Regions from separate parts of the Homo sapiens genome. Here all the other regions are linked to region 1. Evidence: promoter capture Hi-C in 16 types of primary human blood cells and fetal thymus (Javierre and others, 2016). All regions are on one chromosome and are shown on one strand. Each heading gives the region's core, a stretch centred on a gene start or on the middle of the fragment in contact. The rest is flanking DNA. Distances are from core to core; before and after follow the strand shown.

Region 1 (7,177 bases), core at 2,728-5,227:
CAAAATCTAGCTATATTCTCTATGAACATTTTGCTGTACTTGCTTTCACTCTTTTTTCTCTTCCTTTTTTCTTTTCTGGTTTTTTGTTTGTTTGTTTGTTTGTTTGTTTTGTTTGAGATAGGGTCTCGTTCTGTTGCCCAGGCTGGAGTGCAGTGGCACGATCACGGTTTACTGCAGCCTCAATTTCCTGAGAACAAGCAATCCTCTCGCCTTAGCCTCCCAAGTAGCTGGGACTACAGGAGCACACTACCGTGCCTGGCTAATTTTTTCTATTTTTTTGTAGAGATGAAGTCTCACTATGTTACCTAGCTTGGTCTTGAACTCTGGGTTCAAGCAATCTTTCCACCTTGGCCTCCCAAAGTGTTGGATTATACGTGTGAGTCACCTCACCTGGCTACTCTCATTCTTTTGAAATAGTGTTTAGTGTGATTGCAATTCGAGTATATGTAGAGTGTTTTTTTTTCTTTTTCTTTTTCTTTCTTTTTATGTTTTTGAGATGAGATTTCACTCTGTTGCCCTGGCCTGGCTGCAGTGGAGTGGTATGGTCATAGCTCACTGCAGCCTCACATAGAGGATTTTTTTTTCTTTTTCTTGAAATATCATGGGCATTTTCCATGATGTTACTTTTGTTGAAATATTATTTGTAATGGTTGCTTAGGAGTCTTCAACATGAATAGCCTACAATACATGTCATAATTCCACCATTTTGTCAATGTAGCTGCTTTCCTTGCCTTGCCTTTTACAAATCGTGTTGCACTGAACAACACTGTACATAATATTTTGACTTGTCTTTGATTATTTCCTAGAGATGAAGTCTTAGAAGTGAAATGACTAGGTCCAGGGGCAAAAAAAAACTTTTTTATTCTATTTTTGAGGCAGAGTCTCATTCTGTCGCCCAGTCTGGAGTGCAGTGGCACAATCTCGGCTCACTGCAACCTCCACCTCCCAGGTTCAAGCAATTCTCCTGCCTCAGCCTCTAGAATAGCTGGGACTACAGGAGCGTGCCACCACACCCGGCTAATTTTTGTTTTTAGTAGAGACGAAGTTTCACTGTTTGGCCAGGCTGATCTGGAACTGGTGACCTCAGGTGATCCACCCACCTTGACTTCCCAAAGTGCTGGGATTACAGGCGTGACCCACCACGCCTAGCTAGTAAAAACAAACAAACAAACAAACAAACAAACAAACAAAATATATATATATATAATGCCCTTCCTATGTTTTTGAACTGCCTGACCAAGAGGTGTCTTCAATGTATGCACTTGTGCTCATTAAGAGTATCTTTTAATTCTAAAAAAGGAGAAAAAGAACTTAAGCTATTTTAAAAGATAAAAAATGCATCTCATTATTCTTTCTCAGCATTGCTTTGGTTACTAGTGAGGCTGCGTCTGCTTTTCCTGATTGGCCAGCTGTTGCTCTTTCTGTGAATAATGTTTCAAGTCCTTTTTTTTCCCCGTTAGGATGTATTTATTTAAATAAATACATGTATTTAAATAAACTCTTTACCAGAATTATTATTTCTTTAGTTACAATATTTATGACAAATATTTCCCCATATTGTTCTTTAACTTTAAATTTTGTTTCTTATCACTTTTGGTACACACAAGTTTGCATTTTTACATGGTAAAATGTTGGTTTTGCTTGCTGAGAATTCCTTCATGGCTTTTATGTGTTAAAAGAGCATCTTCATACTTGTCTGAATGTTCCACCTAGATTTTTTAATGTACTTTATTTTATTTATTTATTTATTTATTTTTATTTTATTTTATTTTTTTTGAGATAGAGTCTCGCTCTGTCACCCAGGCTGGAGTAGAGTAGCGCGATCTCGGCTCATTGCAAGCTCCACTTCCCAGGTTCATGCCATTCTCCTGCCTCAGCCTCCCAAGTAGCTGGGACTACAGGTACACGTCACCATGCCCCACTAATTTTTTTTTTTTGTATTTTTTGGTAGAGACGGGGTTTCACCATGTTAGCCAGGATGGTCTCGATCTCCTGACCTCATGATCCGCCCGCCTCGGCCTCCCAAAGTGCTGGGATTACAGGCAAAATGTGCTTTATTCATTTATTTATTTAGAGATGGAGTTTTGCTCTTGTTGCCCAGGCTGGGGTGCAATGGTGTGATCTCGGCTCACTGCAACCTCTGTCTCCTGGGTTCTCCTGCCTCAGCCTCCCGAGTAGCTGGGCTTACAGGCATGCACCACCACGCCAGGCTAATTTTGTAGTTTTAGTACAGACGGGGTTTCTCCATGTTGGTCAGGCTGGTCTCGAACTCCCTAACTCTGGTTATCCACCTGCCTGGGCCTCCCAAAGTGCTGGGATTACAGGCGTGAGCCACCGTGCCCAGCCAATGTGCTTAATTTTTTTAAGTTAACTCTTTAACTCATCTGGAATTATTTTGATGAATGGTGTGAGGCATAAATGGAACCAAGCTTTTCCCAAACAACCAATTTTCCATTATAGTTATTAGTTAATATTTCCTTTCTCCAATTAATTTGTAATTCTTCTTTTTACCACATGAGAAGGCTTTACATCTATGAGAGTCCATTGTCTGGGCCATTTACTTTATTTCACTGGTCTGCCACTTCTTGAACCAACATACCACAATATTTATATTGACACTTTATCTTTTCATATCTGATATGAAAATCATTTTTTTCTAAAACATCTTAGTTATTTTTATTAGTTTATTCATACGGATGAAAAAGTTTAGGATTTTGACACATTTTACCAGATCTCATGGAATTTTCTTTGGTACTGCACTTGTTCAGTTCCCCAATCCTCAATCATGGTAGAGCTGTAGTTTTCCTTATATGGGTCCTGCTCAAATTGTTAGAAATTCTTATTTCTAAGAAATGTATTATGACTATCATAAGGCGATTTTCCCATCACCACCCCTGCTCAGGTTACTACCAATTATTGTTGGAATAACAGAAAGTGTTTTTTTCCCTATTCATCATACACATAGCTACTTGCTGCGATTATGGATTCTGAGAACGTCTTAGGTGACTATTTGGGTTTTCCACGTGGGCCATCATATCTGCAAATAGTAGTATTTCTGCCTTTTTTTTTTTTTTTTTTTTTTTTTGGTATTTCCACTTCTTGCTTCATGTTTTACTGCATTGGCCAGGGCTGGTAGAAAGATGTTCAGTGGTCACGTGAGGTTTTACTACTGACTTTATTAGGAATGCTTCTGGTGTTTCTCATCTGAGTTCCGTTGTCGCTTAGACTTTGAAATCCCTTTTTAAAAATCGTGTTCAGAAAGCACATCTCATGGAAATGACAAATATGAGAACTAAAACCGACAAATTTCTGCCCAAAATCCCACATGCAGAGCCTCCTGGCCTGGAGCCTCCTGAGGCGTCGGTTCTTTGATGACTTCCCATTTCTTTTCCCTTTTTTTTTTTTTTTTTGACGGAGTCTGGCTCTGTCGCCAGTCTGGAGTGCAGTGGTGCGATCTCGGCTCACTGCAACCTCCGCCTCCCAGCTTCCAGTGATTCTCCTGCCTCAGCCTCCCGAGTAGCTGGGATTACAGGCGCCTGCCACCATGCCCGGCTAATTTTTGTATTTTCAGTAAAGACGAGGTTTCACCATGTTGGCCAGGCTGGTCTCGAACTCCCGAACTCAGGTGATCCGCGCGCCTCGGCCTCCCAAAGTGCTGGGATGACAGGCGTGAGCCACCGCGCCAGCTGATGACTTCCCATTTCTTCCTTGGTTCTTTCGGAGCCACTTTGGGAAATTCGGTTCTATCTGCAGTGGTAAAATACAGGTCGGCTCTCCACGCGCGCGGCCAATGGACGCTCCCAGCGCGGACAGACAGGCCCTTTGCTGGAGCTGGGCAGGGCGAAAGGACCCCAGGGCGGGGCTTCAGTCGAGGCCGGCCCCGCCCACCGCTGCAGCCGCGCATGCGCCATGTACAGGCTGCTTTGGGCCCTCCCGCGTGCCGTTCTTACCCGGCCTGCCCCGCGCCGCCGCTTCCGGAAGTGGGTCTCGTCTCCTCCCAAGCGGAGCATTTGTGCCTGAAGCTGCCGGGTCTGCTACGGCACCGCGGGGCTGCAGAAACCCGGGGGCCAAGGGCGGGCTGCTTGCCGCTATGGCTGGCAGTCAGGACATATTCGATGCCATCGTGATGGCGGATGAGAGGTGGGTGGTGAGGCCGGGCCCGCACCCCGCCCTGTCTGGTCGTCTCCCAGCGGCTTCGCCGCCGGCTGCGGCCCAGGGCGGCTGCTGGAGCCTGGCGTCCCTTGGGCGTGCGCATTGGGGAGCGCCTGGTGGCCGTGGACGCAGGGACAAGTGTGGGCCTGATGCTCTGGTCCTCTTCTCCTGGCCCGCTCCGGCGGGGCACGTGCCCAGCTGCTCTTCCAGACCCGCCTTCCCTGTCAGGGCTGCCCCAAACATCTGCTCAGCCTGGTGGTTCCCCTCCTCCGAGGCCGCCTCGTCCTCTGGGAGGACAGACCTTTGCCATCTGGGAGCTGCCTTTTTTTCTGGTTCCTTAATCATAGGACATACGGCAGTATTCATGGATGTGCTGATAGATGTACCCGACCACACCCCTTTTCCCTCCAGAGCCCCTGGGGAGCCCCTCGTGCTGCGACAGTGGGGGAGCTGTGAGTTGCCTCCTGGCTGACTTCCAGTGCCCGGCCCAGAGGACGCGTCCATAGATGTTAGTTAAGAAAGCGGCCGAACATTTAGCAGTCAGGCGCTGACGTTTATTTAGCTCGCGCTGTGAGTCAGACACTGAGCTAAACGTTCCACCCTGGTTATCTACTTCAGCCCTACTTAGTAAGTGGATCCTATTATTCTTCGGAATTTACAGACTAGGAGGCACAGTCACTTTCCAGGGTCACACAACTATTAAGTGGGGAGCTATGCACCCTGCTTCATGGGGCGCTGCAGCCCACTCCTTGCATGTTTGGTGACTGCAGGTTAAGATAGTGGCAGTTCCACTGTTGGGCCTCAGGGTCAGTGCTACTCCGGGTACCAGTCGGAGAACATTTTGTGGTGATCTGATGCCATTTCTCTCTGTTGCCCTACCCATGTGATGTCAAACCCTGTGTATGTTGCAGTTTTTTGGAAGCGGTTGACTTGGGCTAGTGCTACTTGAACACTCACAGAACTTTGGCCCCCTAACTCTGGCTGCAAACCAGACTTATCTAGGAGACTTTGAAAAGTAGATTCCGGGCCAGATGCGGTGGCTGACGCCTGTAATCCCAGCACTTTGGGAGGCCGAGGCGGGCGGATCACGAGGTCAGGAGATCCAGACCATCCTAGCTAACATGGTGAAACCCCGTCTCTACTAAAAATACAAAAAATTAGCCGGATGTGGTGGTGGGCGCCTGTAGTCTCAGCTACTTGGGAGGCTGAGGCAGGAGAGCGTGAACCCGGGAAGCAGAGCTTGCAGTGAGCCGAGATCGCACCACTGCACTCCAGCCTGGGCGACAAAGCGAGACTCCATCTCAAGAAAAGAAAAGTGGATTGCAGGCCAGGTGCGGTGGCCCTCACTTGTAATCCCAACACTTGGAGCGGCCAAAGCTGGAGGATCGCTTGAGCCCAGGAGTTTGAGGCTATAGTGAGCTGTGATCATACCACTGCACTCCAGGCAGGGCAACAGAGACCCTGTCTCAAAAAAAAAAAAAAAAAAAAGGAAGAAAGAAAAGTAGATTCCAGGGCCTTGCTCCAGACGTACTGAATCTCTGGGGGTGAGGCTTTTGAGTTAATATCTTTGAATTTTCCTTGTGTGTTTCTAGTACCCTATCAGGTTTGGGAATCCCTAATTTAGCCCTTTGTTGTAGATGAAGAAACTGGGCTACAAGAGGTACAGTGACTTCCAGAGGCAAATAGGAAGTGGTAGATCTGGGACTGGAATCTGTGTCTTCTGACTTGAATTTTAGGCTTTTCCTCCTTTACTCTGGTTTGTCTTACTGGGTCCGGGTAATACAAGAGAGAGAAGTTTTTCTGGAGAAAGTATTCTTTCTCCTGTTGATTTGATGAAGCATGCTTCTTCTTCACAGGTTTCATGGGGAAGGGTATCGGGAAGGCTATGAAGAAGGCAGTAGTTTGGGTGTGATGGAGGGAAGGCAGCATGGCACGCTGCATGGAGCCAAAATCGGGTCTGAGGTAAGTGGGAACCCCCATCTGGAGATGAAGCCTCTTCATTTACAATTTATAATTTATTTCGATATTCAGTGTGATGGAGTAAGAATTGTCAGGCCTTTTAAAATCACAGTGCCGGATGGGCGCGGTGACTCACACCTGTAATCCCAGCACTTTGGGAGTCTGAGGTGGGTGGATCGCCTTGAGGTCAGGAGTTGGAGACCAGCCTGACCAACATGGTGAAACCCTGTCTCTACTAAAAATACTGAATTAGCTGGGCATGGTGGTGCATGCCTGTAATCCCAGCCACTTGGGAGGCTGAGGTATGAGACTCGCTTGAACCTGGGAGGCAGAGGTTGTGGTAAGCCGGGACCGTGCCATTGCACTGCAGCCTGGGCGACAGGATGAAACTCCATCTCCAAAAAATAAACAAAAAAAATCACAGTGCCTTTGCATGGGAGTTAATGGACTAGATGGACTGTTGCTGGAGAAATATTCTTAGTACAGAACCAAGAGTGCATTTTGCTGTAGGTAGATACAATTAAATTATGCATGCTGGATAAAAGAAAACAAGTCCCTGGTCTCCTTAGTTTACTTGGGAGTGTCATGGTGCTGGCTCATGTACTAAGCCAAAGAATGGGTGCCCTCTGTCATGTGAACATATTCCATTTATGTTTACGTTGAAATTTCATTAACTTTATGATTTTTTTTTTTCTCTTCTTGCCCTTTGTCCTAGATTGGCCCTTACAGATAAGTGGCCCTTAGTGGCAAAGTCTGAGTTGAGGCAGTTATGACTATATTGGATGTTCGATGCTGTGAAACAGATCACCACAAAATTCATGGGCTTAACACAGCAAATATGGATGATCTCACATGTTTCTGAGGGTTGGGAACTCAGGAGCAGCTTTGCTGGGTGGTCCTGGCTCAGGGTGTCAGCCAGAGCCGTGTCACCTGAAGGCTTGACTGGGCTTGGAGGATCTGCCTCCAAGGTGGTGCTGTCACCTGACTGTGGGCATGGACGTCTCCATGGGGCTGCTTGTGTGTCCTCGTGACATTCAAGAGCGAGTGGTCCAAGAGAGCTGGTGAG
Region 2 (7,177 bases), core at 3,295-5,794, 580 kb after region 1:
CTCACGCTCTACCTTGCCACCTGTCTGCATGGGTCCCTGAATCTCCTTGTGCCTCAGTCTCCTCACCTGCAAGATGGGGACAGTGACCCCACATGCAAGGAGCTCCAAGGGTTGAACCTGGTGGTTGAAGCTCACAGCCCATGCCGGGGTCGCTAGCTCGGCTTCCTCATTGCCATTCTCCCAACAAGCCCACTCGCCTCCCTTTCCAAAAGACAGGACAGATGCCAGGAAAAGCCGATTTCAAGTCCAAGACCACAGCCAGTAGCAGGCAGGACCCAGGCCAAGCCTCAGACTCTAGGCCAAGTGTCACCTGCCACCTTCCACGGTGACACACGGAGCCACTGGGACTGGCTGGCCACCCTGCCGTGGTGGGCAAAGGGCCGTCCTGGGAGTTGCATCTGACGCTGCAGCATTGGTTCAGCGAGTGTTTATCCGGGGCTAGGACAAGCCAGGCACGCAGAGCTCACGTTTCCACCCAGAGGTACCAGGGGGTGGAAAGCAGAGAAGGTTGGGGCCGGGAGGAGCAGCGGCAGCACCATTCACCAGCCAGGCAGCCTTGGCAGGTTATCCACCTTCTTTGATCCTCAGTTTCCCCATCTGTCAATAGGGCCACAGCGGGTGACTCTGTAAGATTAAACACATCCATCTGCCAGCCTGCAGGTAAAGGGCTCCAGAAAGCACCTAGAGGCCAGCAGGCCCCCAGCAACATGACTTCCGTCTACCAACCAATTATCACTATTATTACTCTCCTGAGATTCCTTTTAAGGGAAATGAAATGCAGACAATGGGCATGTGTTCCCTGCCTTCAACACTAGAAGGTGCCTTCATACCCTTCACCCCCTGGGCCTCCCACCATGAACCTTCAAAACACACGGAGACCAAATCGAGGCTTCTGTGGGTCCTGGCTCACATCCCGATGTTTCCCAACATGGTGCTGGGGTCACCAACGCTGGGTGGTAGCCTTCTCCAGGCCTAGCCCACCCAGGGATGTCTCCGCCAGGAAGGGCAGGGCTCACCAACAAGACCCGTGCCTCTTCAGGTAGAAACCTTTTCCCTTTTCCCAAAGGCCCTCAGGAAGCTCCAAGCTGGCCTGGAGTAACAGTGGGTCTTCGGGCTTCATATCCAGCCTCTTCCTCCTCCTCCTGGTCCCAGCCTTTTCTCTGCTGTCATCCCCCTGGTACGTCCAGGTGAGAACGTGAGCGCCCCATGCCTGGCTCACAGTAACCTCAGATAAACACTGACTGCATGCTACAGCACCAGATGTAAGCTACCTTCTGTTCTTTCTGGCATTCGATGGCATGCATATCTACAAATTTCTCCACATCACAAGGCCTCACAGGGTGAGTGGAGGGGCTCAAAAGCCCAGGAGCATGGAGCTGGGGGATGGGAGGCATCAGCCGGGAACTTCCAGACCCCACAGAGGCCGGGACCCCATCTCTGCTCTCTTCATGCTCAGGGGCTCTTGCTGATACCCGTGCCCCTGAGTGTGGCAGGGTCCGGCCAGGCTCTCCACATCCAGTCGTGCACCCTGCACACATCCCATAGCCAAGGCAGATGGGCCAATGTCCTGCCTGGCTCCTACCGGCCAAGCCACGTGTCCGCCAGTGTGGCCGGGGGCACGGCAGCACTGAGCAGCCAGCACTTTTCCCTGATGCCCCTACCCAGAGAGGCTGGGTTCATTCCAACCACCCAGAGAAAGGGCCTTTCTGTAGCTGCTCCTCCCAAAGCACTGCTAGTTTCAAACTGGCCCCTAGCAGCTCTGGGTGCTCCTTACAATTTGCCGAAAGAAAAGAAGGGAAGGAGGGAGGGAAGCTGGCGCTCCTAGGCCAGTCGACCCCCACATGTGGCCCCTGCCAGCAGCAGCACCTGAAACTTTTCACACGTGTACTTCCTCAAGCCTGGCCATCTCAATCAGAAACTCTGGGGCAGAGCCTGGGAATCTGCATTGTCAACATTCCCCAGGGAGTTCTGACGCACGCTCATGTCTGAGGGGCGCTGGCAGACACCTGCCCGGCACTGCATAGGTCTCAGCTTCAGAAATAAGAACCACTCTATAATGTTCACCATGGACTTGTGTTATTGGGCCCCCGCCCACCTCACAAGTCAGTGTGCCCGTCAGCTGTGCTTAAAAAGGCCACAACCTGCAGGGCCTGGGAGGCAGGCAGGCAGGCTCACCTGGCAACAGGTGCTGCTGGGGCCCAGGCCCAGGTGTGGATTAGCCAACTGTGGTCGGAACTGTGGAGGCACCCAGGCCTACCCAGAACCCCCACAGGTGTGGGTCCCACCACCCTGTGAGGCTCCGATTGAATTACTCAGAAGAATAGCTGGCCCCCCACACACACCCTGAAACGTGAGTAGAGGGCTGGGGAGAGGCGTGCAGGAGGCTGTGCCCGCTGCCCTGGGCCGTCTGCTGGCCACTTTGATGTGAGGAGTGTTGTCTGGGCTCCACGCCTCCTCTTTGATTTTTAGGAGCAGTGCAGTGTGCCCAGTCCCATTTGGTGGTTTTTAAGCAAGAACTCTTCTAACCTTTTCCTAAGAACCACTAATTATCTCAGGCGGGAAACCCAATCCAAGCCGTTCTGGCAGTAGGGAAGATTCCCCCTGCTGTGCCCAGCTGGACAGAGACCACATGAAAGGCCCCAGCCTGCTCGCTAAGACCCCGCTCCCAGGCCCCAGCGACAGACTGGGCATGGGTCTTGGACCCCATCCAGCCACCTGCACTGGGGACAGCATGTGGGAGGGAACCTGGGAGAGGAACCTGATGGCCACTGAGTGCTCCCACTAGTGATACCAGGCCTGCGGGGCCGGCAGAACTGCTGCTCTGGTCAGCCCTGTGCTTGAGCCCTGGGGGCAGAGGACCTGCCAGCCCGGCCCTGCCCAGCCCTGCCAAGCCCCGCCCCACTTCTGCCCCACTGCTGCCCCTGGCACTGCACCTCCTGCCACTGCCCAGCAACGTCCCTGTGGCTGACCCCTGCCTGGCCTCCTCATTCCTGCTTTGTCACTTCTCTGGCTCTTCCCTGGGTCTTCCACATCAGTCCACACAGGATCCTCCCACGTGAAAACCACCACAATATCCTCTTGACCCCGCCTCCCCTTTGCAGCGAGATTCCCTGAGGGCCGTCCATCCTCACTGTCTTCAGTGCCTCTCCTCTCGCTCTCCTTTTAATATTTGGCACATGCAAAAGAACACATGTAACATGTGCATGTTCCTAAGGTTAATACCATGACCATGAGCCCTGCCCAGCCCCGCCAGGACAAGAACTTCCCCTGGAACTTGCTCATGGCAGTCAGTCCCTTCCCATCCCATCCCCATTTCCCCAAGAGGTGGCCGCTCCCTGGACCATAGGCTTCTGGCCATCTTGTGTTGAAGTAATCTCAGCACTAACCAGACCATAAGCTTCTGGCCGTCTTGTGTTGAAGTAATCTCAGCACTGACCGGACCATAGGCTTCTGGGCGTCTTGTGTTGAAGTAATCTCAGCACTGACCAGACCATAGGCTTCTGGGAGTCTTGTGTTGAAGTAATCTCAGCACTGACTGGACCACAGGCTTCAGGCTGTCTTGTGTTGAAGTAACCTCATCACTGATGTATGCGTGCCTACATGGTATGTTGTTTAACCTTGCTTTTGAATTTTACATGAATAATACCGTGCCGTGTGGAGACTTCTGGAACTTGTTCACCCAACATTATGTTTCTAAGATTCTTCCAGGTAGCTCTTTGCAGCTGGAGTTCATTCATGTTCACGGCCGTGTAATACTCCACTGTCACCAAGCTGCAGCGTACCTGTCATTCTGTTGAGGACGTTTCAGCTGGCAGATGTGTTGCTAGTACTGATACTGCTCTTAGGATCACTCTGCCGACCGTCTTCCAGTGCACACGGGCAGCAGTTTCTCTTGTGAGTGTATCTAGCAGAGAATTACCAAGGTATGTCCTATTCAATTGCAAGAAATGACACCAAACAATTTTCCAAAGAGGTTGTTTCAGCTTAGCTTGACTCTTCAGAATAAACATGTAAGTACTAACAATTAAGATGGTCCAACCTCTTCCATTTTGACCATGGAGTGAGTGAAATGTTGTGTTTCAGTTTCATTTTGCATATTCCTAATAACTAGTAAGACGGAGCAACTTTTGACATAGCTATGGAACCCGGGTGTTTGCTTTTCTGTGAAAAGCCCAACTTTCTACTGCTTTGTCTTTTTCTTCCTAATTTGTAGGTACTCTTTATGTGGTCTGGATATAAGTTCTTAGTTGTTCTCAGTTACCAAAATCTTCTCCCAGTGTGTGGCTTGCCTATTTTATGGCCTTTTTTAAAGAAAGAAGTTCTTAATTTAAATATATTGAGTTCATCTTCTAAACGTTCTAAAACTTGCTTTTCACACTTAAGCCCGCCTCCAGTCGGTATGTACTTTTGTGTTAGGTGTGAAACAGGGAACTTATTTCTTTCTTTTCCCACCTGGGCTGGAATTTCTGGCAGCATTTATTAAATAACAATCCCTTCCCTGCGGGTTTGCTGCCATCCGTCGCAGTTCCGCATTTGTGCAGGGCTCCCGGGCTCTCTCCCCTTAGCCGATCCGCCCCTTGCGCCGGTGTGCGGGGCTCCCGGGCTCTCTCCCCTTAGTAGATTCGCCCTTGCGCCGGTGTGCGGGGCTCCCGGGCTCTCTCCCCTTAGCCGATTAGCTCCTGCACCAGGACCACACTGCTGTGGCTGCTGTCCCAGCAATGTAAGTCAGGAATAATGGAGCAGCAATTCCCTCAACTGGATTCTCCCACAGAAAGGATTTTTGCTCTTGTTTTTGTACTTTCATGTTAATTTTTCAATCAACTTATCAAATTTTGTGGGAAAAAAATGGCATTATGTTTAGAATTATAATGAATGTATGGATGAAATTGGAGAAGGCTGACATTTTTACAATATCAATTCTTTTTGACCATGAAGATAGAAAAACTGTGGTGGCCAGAATTCCAAGATGACCCCAGTGATCCTTACCCTTACATAATCTCCTCCCGTGAATAAGTCACTCCCGGAATTGGGATATGTTAGGTGGCACACAGGACTTTTAAGGATGGGCAGTTGTCCTGGTGGGTCTGACCTAATCAGGTGAAACTGTAAACCACACAGGCTTTTCCTAGAGATTCAAAGGGTGAGTGGGAGTCAATGTGAGGCAGCTTCTTTGTTGCTGACTTTGAAGATGGAGGGGACCCTATGGCAAGGAATGTGGGTGGCCTCTAGTCCCTAAGAGCAGCCCCTGGCTGACAGCCAGCAGGAAACGGACATCAGCCCAACACCTGCAAGCAACTGCATTTGGCCAACAACCCAAGTGAGTATGGGAGCAGACTCTTCCCCGGAGCTCCCAGAAGGAACCCAGCCCACTGACACCCCAATTTCTGCTGAACGGAGGACCTACCAAGCCGTGCCTGGATGTCTGACCTGCAGCTTGGAGCTAAGAAATGAGGTTGTGATAAGCTACCAAGTATGTGGGGACTTGTTACACAGCAACAGAAAACTACATAGTCTCAATTTACTTGTATCTACAGTCATGGGCTTTAATGAAGTTTTATAGTTTTCTGTATATAGGCCTTGAATATCTTTCCTTCCATTTATTTTTAGAAACTTTAAGAATTTTTAATCTTATTTAAATATCTTTTAAAAAATGAATATAACTGAATCCTTGAATATAATTTATAAGCTTATTGCTAGTGTCTAGAAAAGCAATTGATTTCAGTATATAATCTCAGGGCAGGCCAGGTGCAGTGACTCACACCTGTAATCTCAGCACTTTGGGAGGCCAAGGTGGGAGGATCACTTGAGCCTAGGAATTCAAGAATAGCCTGGGCAACATAGAGATACTCCATCTCTACAAGAAATAAAACAATTAGCCAGACCTGGTGGCATGTGCCTGTAGTTACAGCTACTCAGGAGGCCAAGGTAGGAGGACTGCTTGAGCCCACAAGTTGGAGGCTGCAGTGAGCCATGATCACACCACTGCACTCCAGCCTGGGTAACAGAGCAAGACCCTAAAATAAATAAATGAATAAGTAATAAAGTAAAAACTTTTTAAATCTCATAGCAAACAACTGTGCTGAATTCTTTTTTTTTTTTTTTTTTTTTTTTGAGACGGAGTCTCGCTCTGTCGCCCAGGCTGGACTGCGGACTGCAGTGGCGCAATCTCGGCTCACTGCAAGCTCCGCTTCCCGGGTTCACGCCATTCTCCTGCCTCAGCCTCCCCAGTAGCTGGGACTACAGGCGCCCGCCACTGCGCCCGGCTAATTTTTTGTATTTTTAGTAGAGACGGGGTTTCACCTTGTTAGCCAGGATGGTCTCGATCTCCTGACCTCATGATCCACCCGCCTCGGCCTCCCAAAGTGCTGGGTGAATTCTTACTATTCTTAATAATTTTGGCTTTTCTATGTAGACATCATATTTGAGAATAAAGCATTACGTTTCTTCTATTGCTGTTTTTATGTACTTACATATTTATTGCATCTTAATGAGGCAGGACCCTCAGCAGCATGTAGATTTTGCTGTTGCTGATTGTAAAGGCCCTGACAGTGACAACTTCCATTTGGAAAGCTGTTTGCTGAAGGTTTTGGCAGCAGGGCGTCCACACAAGAGGGGTACACAGTGTGGGAGTCAAAGCCCCAGTCGGATGAGCAGGGCATCTCTGTGGGGAGTGGGTGGCAGTGATGGGAGGCTGGGGACATGCAGGAAAACTGACCCAATAATAGATTAAGGAGAATGAGAACCATTCCCAGAAAGGGCCTTACAGCTATGGAAAGAGAGAAAAACTGGAACGTACCCTGTGGTGCTGGGCTAAAATCGGAGGTATTAGTATCATTCCCAGCTGTGAATAGATGAGACAGAGAGAGAGATGGAAGTACGTGCACATATCCTCTAGCTCTGTCCACTAAGAGCTCCCGGGTGCAGCAATCTGCAACAGCCAGGAGCACGCCTCGCACCCACATCCTGGTTCCTGATGCTACTCTCCATTCAAAAGAACAGGTCTTCTTAGAGCTGCAGCTCACTCCAATAAATGAAAGAGAAAGGGGCAGGCAAGTATAAAATAAGGCTTGAACATCTTTTTGCACCAGAAAGTAAAGAAACAGCTAAAGAACTGTAGGTACATAACAAAAAAAACACAAAAGGCAGAAGAAGGGGCTCCCACGGGCCAAACAAGCAG
Region 3 (7,177 bases), core at 2,805-5,304, 530 kb after region 1:
AGACTCCATTGTCAGTGGGTGACAGTGTTCACTTACCAGGAAGAGGAGGCTGCTCAGGCTAACCCAGCCATGACCCCCGCTGGAGGCTAGCTCTGGCACATCCTCTGGCTGGAGGCTAGCCCAGGCGTGACCCCTGGCTTCAGACTAGCTGGGGCTTGTCCTGTGGCTAGCTGCTAGCCTAGGCATTGAGAGGTGAAGCCAGCTGGACTTCCTGGGTCGAGTGGGGACTTGGAGAACTTTTCTGTCTAGCTAAAGGTTTGTAAATGCACCAATCAGCACTCTGTAAAAATGCACCAATCAGCGCTCTGTGTCTAGCTAAAGGTTTGTAAATGCACCAATGAGCACTCTGTAAAAACGCACCAATCAGTGCTCTGTGTCTAGCTTAAGGTTTGTAATTGCACCAATCAGCACTCTGTAAAAACGGACCAATCAGTGCTTTGTAAAATGGACCAATCAGCAGGACGTGGGGGTGCCAAATAAGGGACTAAAAGCTGGCCACCAAAGCCAGCAGCGGCAACCCACTCGGGTCCCCTTCCATGCTGTGGAAGCTTTGTTCTTTCGCTCTTCATGATAAACCTTGCTGCTGCTCACTCTTTGGGTCCACACTGCCTTTATGAGCTGTAACACTCACCACGAGGGTCTGTGGCTTCATTCCTGAAGTCAGCGAGACCATGAACCCACTGGGAGGAACAACCAACTCCCACGTGCCACCTTCAAGAACTGTAACACTCACTGCGAAGATCTGTGGCTTCACTCCTGAAGTCAGCAAGACCACAAACCCACCAGAAGAAAGAAACTCCGGACACATCTGAACATCTGAAGGAACAAGCTCCAGACACACTATCTTTAAGAACTGTAACACTCACCGCGAGCGTCTGCGGCTTCATTCTTGAAGTCAGGGAGACCAAGAATCCACCGGAAGAAACCAATTCCAAACACAGCATGACCCCCGTTGGAGGCTAGCTTGGGCCCATCCCGTGGCTGGAGGCTAGCCCAGGTACATCCCCCGGCTGGGGGCTAGGTCAGGCACATCCCCTGGAACCTCACCAGGAAGCACAGTGGCCACCTCTCCTTCTAAGGCACTGGGTCTCTCTGCCTGACTTCTTCCACCTTCTCTTTCTCTCTGCTCATTGGCTCCCTCTGCTCTGCCTGAGCCTAAAGGCACTGTCAGCCTCACCCATAAATAAGTCCAGCACCCACACTTTGCTGCTGGCCTCCCAGCCCCAGGCTCCCGAGAGAGAATCAGAAGAGCTCAGCAGCCCCTGCATTGGTTCCACAGGCAAAGTCCAAGCTTGACCAACCCGCTGAGGGCTGAGGTACACACATGACTGTGGGCGCTCCAAGAAGGCAGACGAGAAGCAGAGCACATGTGGCCGGCCCCCACCTCTAACCTATTTGCACACACACGTGCAACACATTTCCAAGTCCCGCTGAACACTGAACGTCACGTTACATTTTGTTACATTTCCTTAGCAGTGAGCACTGTTGGGCGATTAACAAAGACGAAAACACCAACAACCTGTATAGTCACAGAGGGTGTGACAACTCACACGGTGCCTCCGTATCCAACGTCCATTTCTGGCACTTGTAAAGCATGCGAGGCTCAGAGAGGTGGAACGTATCTGTTGCCTCTGGGATCCCTGACTTGAAAGTTCACACCCAGGCTCCTGTCACTGAGCAGAGCCCCAGGCAAAGATGCTGAGCCAGGGGAGGTGGCTCTATCACTCCTCCCCCATGCCCCGGCTTCCCTGCCCTGCAGGACGACTGCCTGTCCCCACCCTACTGAACTCAGGAGTGGCCAGTGAGATAAGGGAGGAAATACTCCTGTCGCTTCCTGGTGTGGTGGCTCACACCTGTAATCCCAGCACTTTGGGAGGCTGAGGCAGGCAGATCATGAGGTCAGGAGTTCGAGACCAGCCTGGCCAATAGGGTGAAACCCTGTCTCAACTAATAATACAAAAACCATTAGTCAGGCATGGTGACATGCTCCTGTAGTCCCAGCTACTTGGGAGGCTGAGGCAGAAGAATTGCTTGAACCCGGGAGGAGAAGGTAGCAGTGAGCCAAGATCACGCCACTGCACTCCAGCCTGGGCGACAGAGCGAGACTCTGTCTCAAAATAAATAAATAAATAAATAAATAAATAAATAAATAAGCCAGGGCATGGTTTGCAACGTTCTCTTTTCCCTCTTCCTTTTCCTTCCAGGAAGGAGGCTGCCCTGCCTGGAGTGAAGAGTGCATGGAGCAGTCTCAGCCGACCCAGGTGGGATGCGTAACATGGCCGAGAAATCCACCCATGCTGCTGAGAGCTACTGCGCCATGGGGTCATGTGTCACCTAACTGACTTAGCCCAGCCTGACTGATCCCCCGTGTGTGACCAGACATCAGCACATTCAGAGGACCTCATACTGAGAATTGGTGGACCTTTCAGAATGGACATGACCACTCAAAGTAGGGACATTACTCGCTATTTGATGGCCCATGTGGGATCAAAGGCCACTGGGGTTCCCTCAAGGCACAGCACACTTAGAATCCCATAAGTCCTCAGTTCTAAGGCATGTATTTTTCATACTTTGATAATTCTGAAATCAAGTATAGCTTCTAGTAGATATTAAAACTCATTTTCAGATCCTGCAGAAAGGAGGAGACAGAAATAAAGTTGCCATTCCCTGCTTTTGTATGAACCCAGCTGAGCATAAACCGTAATCTATTCAACCTCTACCGGGTGTTTGCCTTGCGTCCCCACACGTGGTTGACTCATAACCTAAGTTTGAATCCCTAATTTTCACTTTAAATAACTTCAGCTACTCGGGATGCTGAGGCAGGGGAATCGTCTGAACCCAGGAGGTGGAGGTTGCAATGAGCCGAGACTGCGCCACTGCATTCCACCCTGGGTGACACAGCAAGACTCTGTCTCGGGAAATAAAATTAAATTAAATTAAATCAAATCTTCAAAAATATTGCAGTACAATGCAGCACTGAAACAAGAAGCTGTTGTGTATGTGAGATTTCCTGTCCCACATTGGGCAATGCAACTGAAGGCAATAGAAACCAGGACATTGCTCAGAATATGCCATAAAGCTCCACCATGCTAAGAGTTTAAAAAAAAGAAAAGAAAAGAAAGAAAGAAAAACAGAAAACCAAAAATAAAAGAAGAAAAATAAAGCTCCACCGTGCAGCTGGAGATGTTAGCATGAATAACCTCTAGATGAACATAATCTATCAAAAGGTTTTTGCTGTCAGAAGAAACAACAGAAAGTAGAATCAGACCCAGACCTGTCAAAATTATCAGAATATAATATAAAATAAGCATGATTAAAGGATTAAGAGAAAATATTTAAAACATAAAGAACAAGAGATTATAAAATGACCAAGCAGATTTGGAAAGACCTAAATGTAATTCCAGAGATGAAAATATATTAAGTGATACTAACAGATGGTCAGACATGGCTGAAAATTATGTTGGTGAACGGAAAGACAGATCTGAGCTATGGCCCAGAATACAGCACAGAGAGACAATGGGAGACAAGAAGGAGCTGCCAAGAGGCATGAGGGGTGGAGTAAAAGCTACACTGTATGGTCCTAGGAGCTCCAGTAGAAGAGAATAGAATAGGGCAAAGGCTAGATCTGAAGGGGAAATGGCTGAGAAGTTTTTAGAACAGATGAAAAACATCAATCCCCAGATTTGGGCATCCCAAAGAATCCAACCTAGGATGAGTGATAAGCAATCCATAGCTGGGGACATCATAGTGACACCATACAATACCAAGAGGTGTTTTTAAATGTACCTGGGATTTTGTTTTAATCAGGTACATTAACATGACAGACATGGAGACAGCTGCCTTAAAAGAAGTTTATTACTTACAGTTCCCAGGAGCAGGGGGCATGCCATGCTATGCAGTCTACATGAGGAAGGACGAGGGTTGGTCAGGAGGCAGAGGGAGCAGGGGAACACAAGGGGAGACTTTACTATCACTACTATTACTATTGACATAGTAATAATAGTAATAAAGTACCATAGTAGTCAAGACTCTCCCCTTGGTGGTGGAAAGTTAAGTGAGGGTGTCTCCTATGGGGCAGAAGGCAAAACACAGATGTTGGGGGTTGTGGCCAGAGGGTTTGTGATATGATTTTTGTGCACCCATGAAAACACAAGGATAGTAAGGATAGAAACAAGCCTGGCTATAGTTTGGCTCATGATTTCAAGATACCAAATTACAGGACATCAAGAATGATTATTACAGTGGAGTGTAGCTTAGAAGCAGCCAGAGAGGCAAGGTTGGCCCACAGCTGACTTCTCAACAGCAATGGATGAGCGGAAGACAGTGGAATGACATTTTTAAGGTGCTAGAGTGAAGTGACTACCTAGAATTGTATACTCAACCAAAAATGTTTAAATAAAGACACATGCTAGAGGTTTCTCTTGGGAACATACCTACGAGTATATACGCTTAGCTGAAGGGAATATGCATCTGGCTTCATGGACGCTTCCAACAATAGCTTAGTTGGGGTTCCTTCCAGTTGCTTCTGTGAAATTAAAGAATTCAGACTTAAAGCTGTTGGAACTGTATTCAGAGCCTTGAGAGGAACATGGCTATGCAACTTGAGTCACATGGAATGCAACTGCAACTTCTACCTTTTTTTTTCCCTATAAATAATTAAGAAGACCAAACGACTTCAGAGATAAGAATCCCTTGAATTTCTACCCCTCCTCATGGAGTAATAAAGTATTTTCCTTGGAATGCAGCAATCTGTAACCGATCAAGTCACTGTACGCACTGATCGTGTATGAAAAATGTTGTAATCCTGCTGAAATTTCTCTGTCTCTGCCTATGTAAGAGAAATCTTAACTTCTCCACTTTGAAACAGTGACCCCATTTGTTTGGAGTCAGTGTTGCCCAAGTGGCTATCCTCATGCTTTGGGCTCAAAGAATCTCTACATTTAATCATAGTTTCTGAATCTCACTGTTTAAGGTTGACACTTCTCATCCTCACCAACACGGGCTTTTGAGTGCTTGCCAAGCTGGTGGGTGAGACATAGTGTCTCGGTATAGTTCGGGGTTGCATTTTCATATTGACTTTTCTTATGCTGATTGCCTTTGGGGTTTCTTCTCTTGTGAAGTACCAGTTGAGTCTTTGGTTGTTTCTTTTTCTTAGGAATTTGTAGGCATTCTTCATTGTATTAACCATTACTTCTTTTTCCTGTATTCTGATGCTTTGACATCTGGGAACGTGCTGACCCTGGAGGGATGGCCCCTCCCAGGATTAGCCAATTTCTAGAAATGAAGTCATCTGTGAGTGCACCTTTCAAATGTAAACCAACTAACTAATCCAGAGCTCACATTTGCAACGACCTCTTCTATCAGGTTCTCATACTCAGGGCTACCATCCTCCTGCCATAATCACCCCAGGGCCAGGTACCAGACAGGCAGGGACAGTCCCTGTGCCCCAGAGCCTGTAACATTATTCAAACTAGCCCATCCTATGCCTACTTGCCCTGCCTCACTCGTTTTTTCCTACAGAAACCACAATCAAGGCTCTTGCCCACACTTTCCCCTTAGTCCCTATCCCTCCAGACCAACTCCCCTGCTTCCCTGTGCCCCCCATCCACCCCGGGGTGCAGCATGTCCCCTCCCCTGCAGATCTGTGAGTAACAAACTATCTTTTCAATAATGGTTATCTCCTGATCTGTTGGCCTCATCATATCTGAATAATAATAAAACCTATAGCAGCCGGGCGTGGTGGCTCACACCTGTAATCCCAGCACTTTGGGAGGCCAAGGTGGGTGGATCACGGGGTCAAGAGATCGAGACCATCATGGCCAACATGGTGAAACCCCGTCTCTACTAAAAATACAAAAATTAGCTGGGCGTGGTGGTGCACGCCTTTAATCTCAGCCACTTGGCAGGCTGAGTCAGGAGAATCACTTGAACCCGGGAGGCAGAGATTGCAGTGAGCTGAGATCATGGCACTGCACTCCAGCCTGGTGACAGAGCGAGACTCCATCTCAAAAAAACAACAGCAACAACAAAAAAAATTTTTCTTCATACAAATTATTTGTCAGTTCTAAGCATTGCAGTATCTTCTCCCAGTTTGTAGTTTGTCTTTTCATGCTTCTTATGGTGTTTTTTGTTGGTTGGTTGGTTGGTTGGTTTTTGAAACAGTCTCGCTCTGTCGCCCAGGCTGGAGTGCAGTGGCACAATCTTGGCTCACTGCAACCTCCACCTCCCAGGTTCAAGCAATTCACCTGCCTCAGCCTCCCGAGTACCTGGGATTACAGGCATGTGCCACCATGCCCAGCTAATTTTTGTATTTTTAGTAGAGATGAGGTTTCGCTGTGTTGGCCAGGCTGGTCTCAAACTCCACACCTCAAGTGAGCCGCCCGCCTAACCTCCCCAAAGTGCTGGGATTACAGGCGTGAGCCACCGTGCCTGGCCCTTACCATGTTTTTTGATGAACATAAACTCTAAATTGTAATGTGGTCAAATTCATCAATTGTACTGAAGGCCCCAACTGGGACAATAAGGCAAAAAAAATAAACTCATAAAGACTGGAAAAGAAGACAAAATCCTGTCATTATTCACAGATAACGCAATTATCTATGTTGAAATTCCAAAATAATCTACAAACAAGTTATTCAAAATAAGAACAGACTCTACCAAGGTTTCGAGTTAGAAAGTCAGTGTGGGAAACTCAGGAAGAAAGTACTGCCCATTACTGTCTCTTGAGGACCTGAGGCTTCATCTCTACAAACACTTCCCCAATTACAGAAGCCAAGGGAGGGACATGTGGCATGTCCCAGACAGCTCTTAAAGCTTCTCTCAGGAGGTGACACACCCCACTATGCTTGCACACCATTGGCCAAAACAAGTCACGTGTTCAAGCCTAACAAATGTGATTGGATAGTCAGTCCCATGATTAGGTTACACCATATAAGACTCCATCATAGCCAAGTGGAGTGAGATTCTTCTGCTGGTTTTGAAAAAGTGAGCTACCATACTGTGAGAGAAGAGGCCACAGGTTAGAATCTGAGGGCAACCTCTAGAAGTTGAGAGTGTCTCCAGCTGACAGCCAGCAATAAAACAAGGACTTCAGTTCTACACCAAAAGCAACTGAATTCTGTCAACAACCCCATGAGCTTGGAAGCATATTCCTCCTCAGAGCCTCCAGTTGGGGACC
Region 4 (7,177 bases), core at 2,869-5,368, 530 kb before region 1:
GAACCACCAACAGGAATAGAAAATTTTTTGTAGTATGGAAGTTGTAAAGCTGTGTTTTAATAGGATTACCTTAGGAATAAGAGGACTGCTTTTTAAAGATACGAGATCCCGCTGCCTTGGCAATTCTGTTATCAGAAAGATAGTGATTTTGATACAAAACAGTAAGAAACTGTAGAATTGCAGGACCCATAATCCTCACAAGGAAGATTTAGAGAGTGCTGTGTGTCAATCACTCATCAGCACCTCACAGATATTATCTCAATTCGTCCTGGCAACCATCACTGCCCCTACTTAGCAGTCTCAGAGAGGAGACTCAACTCACACAGGGGCCAAGAGCTGGACCACGGCCAACCAGGTCTCCCCACCCCCACCCCAGCCATGCCTCTCCCCACCACAGCACCCCGCCTGACCCTAGTGTCCAGGTCTGTCCCGGTGGCCTCCAAGGAAATGGGACAAAACATCCTTTCTGCCAACTGCAGGGGCAGCAGAACGCCACAGTGGTTGAGCATGGGCTCTGGTGAAGGATGGCGGGGGTTCAAATCCCAGTTCTCCACCTCTCTGCTTCGCTCCGATTCCTGGGCCTCTGAGCTGGTCTCCTCCGCTGTGGAGTAACAGTGTGACTGCTCATCTGCACAGATTCCTTCTGTGCTGGACACGGTTCCAACTTTCCAACTACTCCCGCAGGAGCTCATTTAGTGGAGACAAGATCTTGCTCAGTGTCATAGTGAGGAAGAAATGGAAATATCTGTGCAGGGCCCAAGCCCGGCCTGGTGCGGGAGAGGCATTAATAAACGCAGCTTGAGTTCAGAAGCAGGTGGTCTGTGGCTCACTCAGCCTGGCTTCCTGCTGGGTCTTCACAGTGCTGGGCTACCTTCCTGGAGAGAACCAAAGTCCAGGCTGTGTAGATGCCTGTGGTCCACCAGCGCAAAGCAGCGGCCCATCAGGACGCTTCGGAGGTAGATGCGTCTGAGTTCCATGACATCGGGGACATGGCCCCACTCCTGTTCTGGAGGTCACGGGCCTGCTGAACCTCTTGTACCAGGTCAGCCACCAGGTTCATCTGGCAGGACCTGAGAGCCCCCACCAGGTGGGCCACTGTTGCGTTCTCCTTCTCTGTGTTCTTCCAGATTCTCAGTGACTCCCGCACACGCTCTGTCAGGTTGCGGGGGTATCTGTCCTCGATGCTGTCGATCTTGGTGTCTGAGACTTTGAGCTGACGAGCCAGCCTTCTCCAATCTTTCCCCACATTATCACATATGACGTTAAATGCTGCACACAGGTCTGGGAAGGAAAGAACAGAACGGTTTACCATAGGTTTGGAGACAAGCGACCCCACAATCCTCCCTAGGGCTTTTCAGCACAGACGCCAAGTGCTGAGTGGACAGAGGTGCCTACACGAGGTCCTCTGTAGAGGCTAGAGTCGCCTGGCAGCAAAGGGGCTGCACCAAATGCCCAAGAGTGGCCTGATTCCACCTCAGCCAAACCCCCTGCTCTCTAATACTGTCCTAGGAGGCGTGGCCCACTGAAGACTCAAGTGCCAAAGGAAGTTGTAGTGGAGCTACCTACTTAGAGCAGGAGACACTGAGGGAGGGGCTGGGGAGTTGTGGGAGGGAAGAAAATAGGGTTGATCCCACATCCTGCCCTACAGCAGGCTGAACGATGTCACCCCAAGGTATGTTCACGTGAAATTGCTGAAACCATGAATGTTCTTTGGAAAAAGCATCTTTGCAAAGGTAAGCTGAGGGTCTTGAGAGGAGATCATCCTGGATGACCTGGATGCACCAATGATAGGTATCCTTGCAGGAGACACACAGGGAAGGCCGTGTGAGCCTGGAGTGAAGCGGCCACAAGTCAAAGAATGCCTGGAGCCACCACAAAGCGGACGAGACCCGGAAGGAGCCTCCCCAACAGCATTCCGAGGGTGTGCCGGTCTGTGGCACCCTGCTTATTCAGATTTCTGGCCTCCAGATTGAGGGGGTAGATTTCTATTGCTTCAGGCCACCAGATTTGTGATCATTTGTTATGGCAATCACAGGAAACTAGTAGGCACTCCAATTGTTATTTAGAAAGCTGCCCCGAGTGACCACCAGTCTTCAGTCCCTGGCTACCATACTCCTCATCTGCTGACGTCACCACTGAGATCAGGGAGCTGGTCACAAGACCATAAAAGGCCGCTTCTGGAATGTGAAGAGAGGAAAGGAGAGGCAGGACAGGGTGCTGCTTGGACTACTGGCAATTCTGAGACACCGTTGGCAGGTGTACCAGCTCCCGCAGCTCTGACAGCCCTGTGGGCTGGGCACTGTGTTACCATGACTGTACAGATGAGGAAATTGAGGCACAGGGAAGCTAATGGACATTCCTGAGATCGTGTAGCTAGACGATGGCAGAGCCATGTTCTGAAACCCTAAGAGTGTGGTGCCAGAGTCGACCCTTAACCGCTATGCTGAACTTCTGGGGAGGAAGGCAGAGTCGCCCGCTACCAACCTGTCCATACCCACCGCTCACCTTCTGGTGTACTTTTCCCAGCACACAGTAACTACATGACGATATAAATAAAACCAAGCACACATACATCTCAAATGTCAGCTATGTTTCGTAGACCGCCTTTAAAATGCAATTTATCAGTGTTTTTCCAGACATTAAATATCCATAAAACCCGATTTTTCTACGTCCTGTTTTGTTTGTTCAGTACTGATTTTTTTTAAAATCTGGACTTGACTGCTCTCAGGCAGAGAGCTGTTCTGTCCATCCTGTCCCCAACAGGCACCAGTCTTTACAGAGTGAAACCCATGGTGACACATTTAGGCCCTATCTGATTGGTGACTGAATGGCTGATTCCAAGCTACAGCTTGAAGCCTCTGAGAGGCGTCCCCAGAGCACTCCCAAGCCTCTCCCGACTCTGAGAACAAGGGGGGTAGGGCTGAGAAACTCTGCTGTACTCAGGGTTTCTTTTTTATCCTGGAAGCTGCTGCAATCCACAGGCGAGGGTGGAGAGGGAGTGACCGAGAGCAGGACAGGAAGCCACTCCACAATGAACTTGACCAGAGAGGCAGTGTAGTGGCTAACACTACCCATCCGGAGGCCGGACTGCTTGGCTCAAGCCTAGCTCCGTCAGTTATCGGCTGCGCATTTCGACAAAGCCACTTAACCTGTGAGCCACAGTCCTGTCCTCTGTAAAATGGGAACAGTGATAGCTAACAGTATCTAAGCCACAGGGCTACTGCGAAAATTGTATTTGGCAGTTACAAGGGTAAGCGGCACACTGTAAGCCCCTGGGTAGGAGTTACTGAATGCTAGTATTACTCTCAGACAGCCGTGAAAAGCATATTCCGAGACAGAAAGGAAATGATGCGAGGCAGGCTCACCCAACCTCTGCCCCTCCCCCACACCTTCTCTGACTCATCTTTTCTTCAGTGAGTTTTCTAATTTACCCGGGCAGAAGTGGGTGGAGGAAAAAGGACTGTGCGTGTCCACGCCCTGCAACCTCGAATAAGTTAACTTTTCTGCGTTTCTGGCTCTCCCATCTGCAAAACCAGGGCTGTACGGAGAAAACCCACGCAAATCAAACCCGGCAAAGGGGAGGCGCCTGGAGGCCAACCGGAGGAGCCTCGCAGCACCTACAGCCGGGCGACCAGGCCCTGGCTCCCCCGGCCCGGCCCCGCGCCCACCTTCTTCCCCAGGCGCGGCCCCGGCCGCCGCCCCCGCCTCGAAGTCGTCGACGCGCCGCAGCAGGTCGTGGCGCCGCAGGGAGGCGAGCAGCTCGCGCAGGAGCTCGGTGTGCCCGGGCTCCAGGTCGTTCTGCTCCAGCAGCATGGAGAAGAGGTCTAGGCCGCTCTGCACGCGCTCCAGCTTGCGCTTGCCCACGCGCCCGAGGCATAGGAACTTGAGCTCGGTCAGCTCGCTGCTCGACAGGCTGGACGACACCGAGTGCAGCAGCACCAGGAACGGGTCCATGGCGGGGTCTGCAAGCGGCCGGGGCTGCGGCCCGGCCCTCCGTGCGCCCTCTGTCCTCGGCTCGCTGGCCCTGGCCAGGTCTCGCCGCTTGCCCAGCGGCCCAAGGATTCCACCCCCGAACCTGCACTCCGGTGCCTGATTCACTACAGGAAATCGACAAGAGCGCGTTTTCGACCGTTATCTCGCGAAAACTAAGGGACCCGCGCATGCGTCCCTAGCGAAGCCGCAGCCGTTTCCGCCCTGGCTGGCGGCGCCGCGGACGGGCGCGGCTTCTGCGCCTGCGCCCGGCGTATCGTCTCTTTTCCGGGTGGGAGGTGGGGCCTTGGGTGTCCTGAGAGCCTGCAGGTGGCCCAGCTCTCTGCGGTGAGGGCGGTCGCGCCTCTGCCGAGTCCACCTGTTTGCAAAGCGCGGTGCGGCCCTACTGTGTGCAGGGCCGGGGCGGGGAGGGCGCAGCCCGAACGTCACGTGCCCTCACATCTGTTGGTGACCAAGGTTACTTATGCATTAACGTTTAGGGACAAACGTGGAAAATGCATTCTTTGGTGCCCCTGGAGACATCTTGTGTGTGCAGAAAACACTACTCAGAAGTTTATGTGCGTTTAAACATGTGATTTAAATAATACATGATTTCCAAAGTAGCAGTCGTTTATTCAATCAACAGTATTGAGCGCCTACTGTGCCAGGTAGTAGGGTCTGGGGACAAATTAGTGAGCGAAGCGCGAGGGTCCCCGCGTGCCCGGAGTTTACATCATAATTACAAAAGCGACACGCTCCAGAAGAGAAGGTCGTGGCGGCCGTGGTGGCTCAGCCTGCAATGCCCGCACTTTGGGAGGCTGAGGCAGGATTGATTGAGACAAGGGGTTCGAGACCAGCCTGGGTAACATAGTGAGACCCCGTCTCTATTAAAAAATAAAAATAAGGAAAAATAAGGAAATCGTATAGTATGCCAGAAATTCAGAAGAGCCAGGGGAAAGGGAGTCTCTTCACGGGGTGGGCGTGTGGAGGGTGGGGGGCCCGGTGGTCTGATGGGGCCTCTGTAAAGGCGCAGGTGAAGGCTGGGAGGGGCCGGGTACCTAGGTGTGGGGGGAAGAGCTGGGCACACGGAGAACAGAAGAGCAGAGCACAGGGGACGGCTGGGGTTCCAGGAGCAGCAATGCCGTGGGTCTGGAGGTGAGGAGGGGGTGCAGATTAGGAGAGCCCTCACCAGCCAACAAGGACCCAGCTTTACCACAGGGTGGGGCAGGGGCTGATGCCAGCTGAGTTTGTTTTCTTGAGATATAATTCACATACCATTCAATTCACCCTTTTAAAGTTATACTTCAGTGGTTTTTAGTGTAGTCACAAGGTTGTGCAACCCTTACTGCTGTCTAACTTTAGGACATTTTCATCACCCCAAGAAGAAACCCATTAGCATGTACTCCTCCCCTCCCCCACCAACCACGAATCTACTTTTTTTTTCTTTCTTTCTTTTTTTTTTTTTTTTTGCTGTTTTGAGACAGAGTCTCGCTCTATGGCCAGGCTGGAGTGCAGTGGTGCGATCTGGGCTCACTGCAACCTTTACCTCCCGGGTTCAAACAATTCTCCTGCTTCAGTCTCCTGAGTAGCTGGGATTACAGGTGCCTGCCACCATGCCTAGCTAATTTTTGTATTTTAGTAGAGACAGGGTTTCACCATGTTGGCCAGGCTGGTCTTGAACTCCTGACCTCAAGTGAGCCTCAGCCTCCCAAAGTGCTGGGATTACAGGCGTGAGCCACTGTGCCCTGCCGAATCTACTTTTTAAAATCTATGGATTTGCCAATTCTGGACATTCCATGTGTACAGAACCATACAGTATGTGGCATTTTGTGTCTGGCTGTTTTCAGCATCATTTTCAAGGTTCATCCATGATGTAGAACATATGAGTACTTCATTCCTTTTTTTTCTTTGAGACAGAGTGTCACTCTTTTGTCCAGGCTGGAGTGCAGTGGCACAATCTCGGCTCATTGCAGCCTCTGCCTCCCGGGCTCAAGCGACTCTCGTTTCTTGTGCCTTAGCCTCCTGACTAGCTGGGATTGTAGGTGTGTGCCACTATGCCAGGCTAATTTTTGTATTTTTAGTAGAGACAGGGCTTTGCCATGTTGGCCAGCCTGGTCTCAAACTCCTGGCCTCAAGTGATCCTCTTGCCTCACCCTCCCAAAGTGTTGGGATTACAGGCGTGAGCCACTGTGCCCAGCCTCCTTCCTTTTTATGGATGCATACTATTCCACTGTCTGGGTGTTTGGGTGCCACAGTGTGTCTATCCATTCATCGGAGGATGGACATTGCCTTTGCTTCCACTTTTTGGCTGTTGTGAATAATGCTGCTATGAACACTGAGTTACAGTTTTATTTTGTTTATTTATTTATTGAGACAGGGTCTTGCTTTGTCACCCAGGCTAGAGTGCAGTGGCACAGTCATAGCTCACTGCAGCCTCCTGGGCTCAAGCGATCCTCCCATTTCAGCCTCCTGAGTAGTTGGGATTACAGGTACATACCACCACCCCTGGCTAATTTTCATTTTTTTTTTTTTTTTTTGTAGAAACAGGATTTTGCCATATTCCCCAGGCTGGTCTTGAGCTCCTGGGCTCAAGTGATCCACTAGCCTCAGCCTCTCAAAGTGCTGGAATTTCAGGTGTGACCACCGTGTCTGGTCTTGAGTTACATTTTTTTTTTGAGATGGGGTCTCACTGTGTTGCCCCAGACTGGAGTGCAGTGGCACGATCTTGGCTCACTGCAACCTCTGCCTCCTGGGTTCAGGAGATTCTCGTGCCTCAGCCTCCCGAGTAGCTGGGATCACAGGCATGTGTCACCACATCCGGCTAACTTGCCAGGGTCTGACCCACAGACCTGGGCTGCACTACAGATGAATAATGTACTCAGACACCAGTATTCAGTGAAAGAGCTGGCTAGGGGGCTGGACCTTTCACAAAAAGAGTTGTTCCAGCCCCGCGGCCTGACTAGCTGGTCCTGCAGGCATTTATTCAGCACAGACTTAATGACAAAGGCTTTGAGTCAACACATTTGTGGGTAATTAATCTGGTTGCCCTCCCTCAGAGAGAGTAGTCCTGCCCGTGAATGATCAAAGGTCTGTTTTAGGACAACATGAGTGAACAAGCTATTTAGATAAACTCCTCTACATTCCTATGTATCTACGCCCTAAACTTTTAAGAGAATTCAGCTACCTTCAGCCAAATCTTTTACTGAAG

Evidence for each region. The method cuts DNA at HindIII sites, captures the fragments that hold promoters and counts their contacts. A CHiCAGO score of 5 or more calls a contact.
Region 2: a contact is called between a fragment that was not itself captured here and the fragment with the promoter of LTO1 in region 1, in 16 of 17 cell types (endothelial precursors, megakaryocytes, total CD8 T cells and 13 more). The highest score is 24.2, in endothelial precursors.
Region 3: a contact is called between a fragment that was not itself captured here and the fragment with the promoter of LTO1 in region 1, in 1 of 17 cell types (endothelial precursors). The highest score is 7.7, in endothelial precursors.
Region 4: a contact is called between the fragment with the promoter of FADD here and the fragment with the promoter of LTO1 in region 1, in 17 of 17 cell types (naive CD8 T cells, naive CD4 T cells, naive B cells and 14 more). The highest score is 17.6, in naive CD8 T cells.

The regions. Positions count from the first base shown.
Region 1 is chr11:69,672,153-69,679,329 of GRCh38, reverse strand. LTO1 (LTO1 maturation factor of ABCE1) reads left to right here and starts at 3,977. Exons shown (of 5, transcript NM_153451.3): 1 at 3,977-4,140; 2 at 6,009-6,114. The coding sequence starts at 4,091. RefSeq lists enhancers at 3,616-3,815, 3,685-4,185 and a silencer at 4,306-4,395. The HindIII fragment of the contact is 5,284 bases long and covers 2,432-7,177 here.
Region 2 is chr11:69,089,874-69,097,050 of GRCh38, reverse strand. TPCN2 (two pore segment channel 2) reads right to left here. Exons shown (of 25, transcript NM_139075.4): 25 at 6,454-7,177. Among named protein-coding and RNA genes, the nearest start is that of MIR3164, 10 kb to the right of the region's middle. The HindIII fragment of the contact is 2,289 bases long and covers 3,400-5,688 here.
Region 3 is chr11:69,142,768-69,149,944 of GRCh38, reverse strand. LOC338694 (a long non-coding RNA gene) reads left to right here. Exons shown (of 3, transcript NR_104161.1): 3 at 2,205-2,717. Among named protein-coding and RNA genes, the nearest start is that of SMIM38, 9.6 kb to the left of the region's middle. RefSeq lists an enhancer at 735-1,234 and a silencer at 4,983-5,042. The HindIII fragment of the contact is 5,522 bases long and covers 1,294-6,815 here.
Region 4 is chr11:70,200,237-70,207,413 of GRCh38, reverse strand. FADD (Fas associated via death domain) reads right to left here and starts at 4,118. Exons shown (of 2, transcript NM_003824.4): 1 at 3,669-4,118; 2 at 24-1,281. The coding sequence starts at 3,954. The coding sequence ends at 941. RefSeq lists silencers at 3,388-3,579, 3,629-3,708. The HindIII fragment of the contact is 16,091 bases long and covers 1-7,177 here.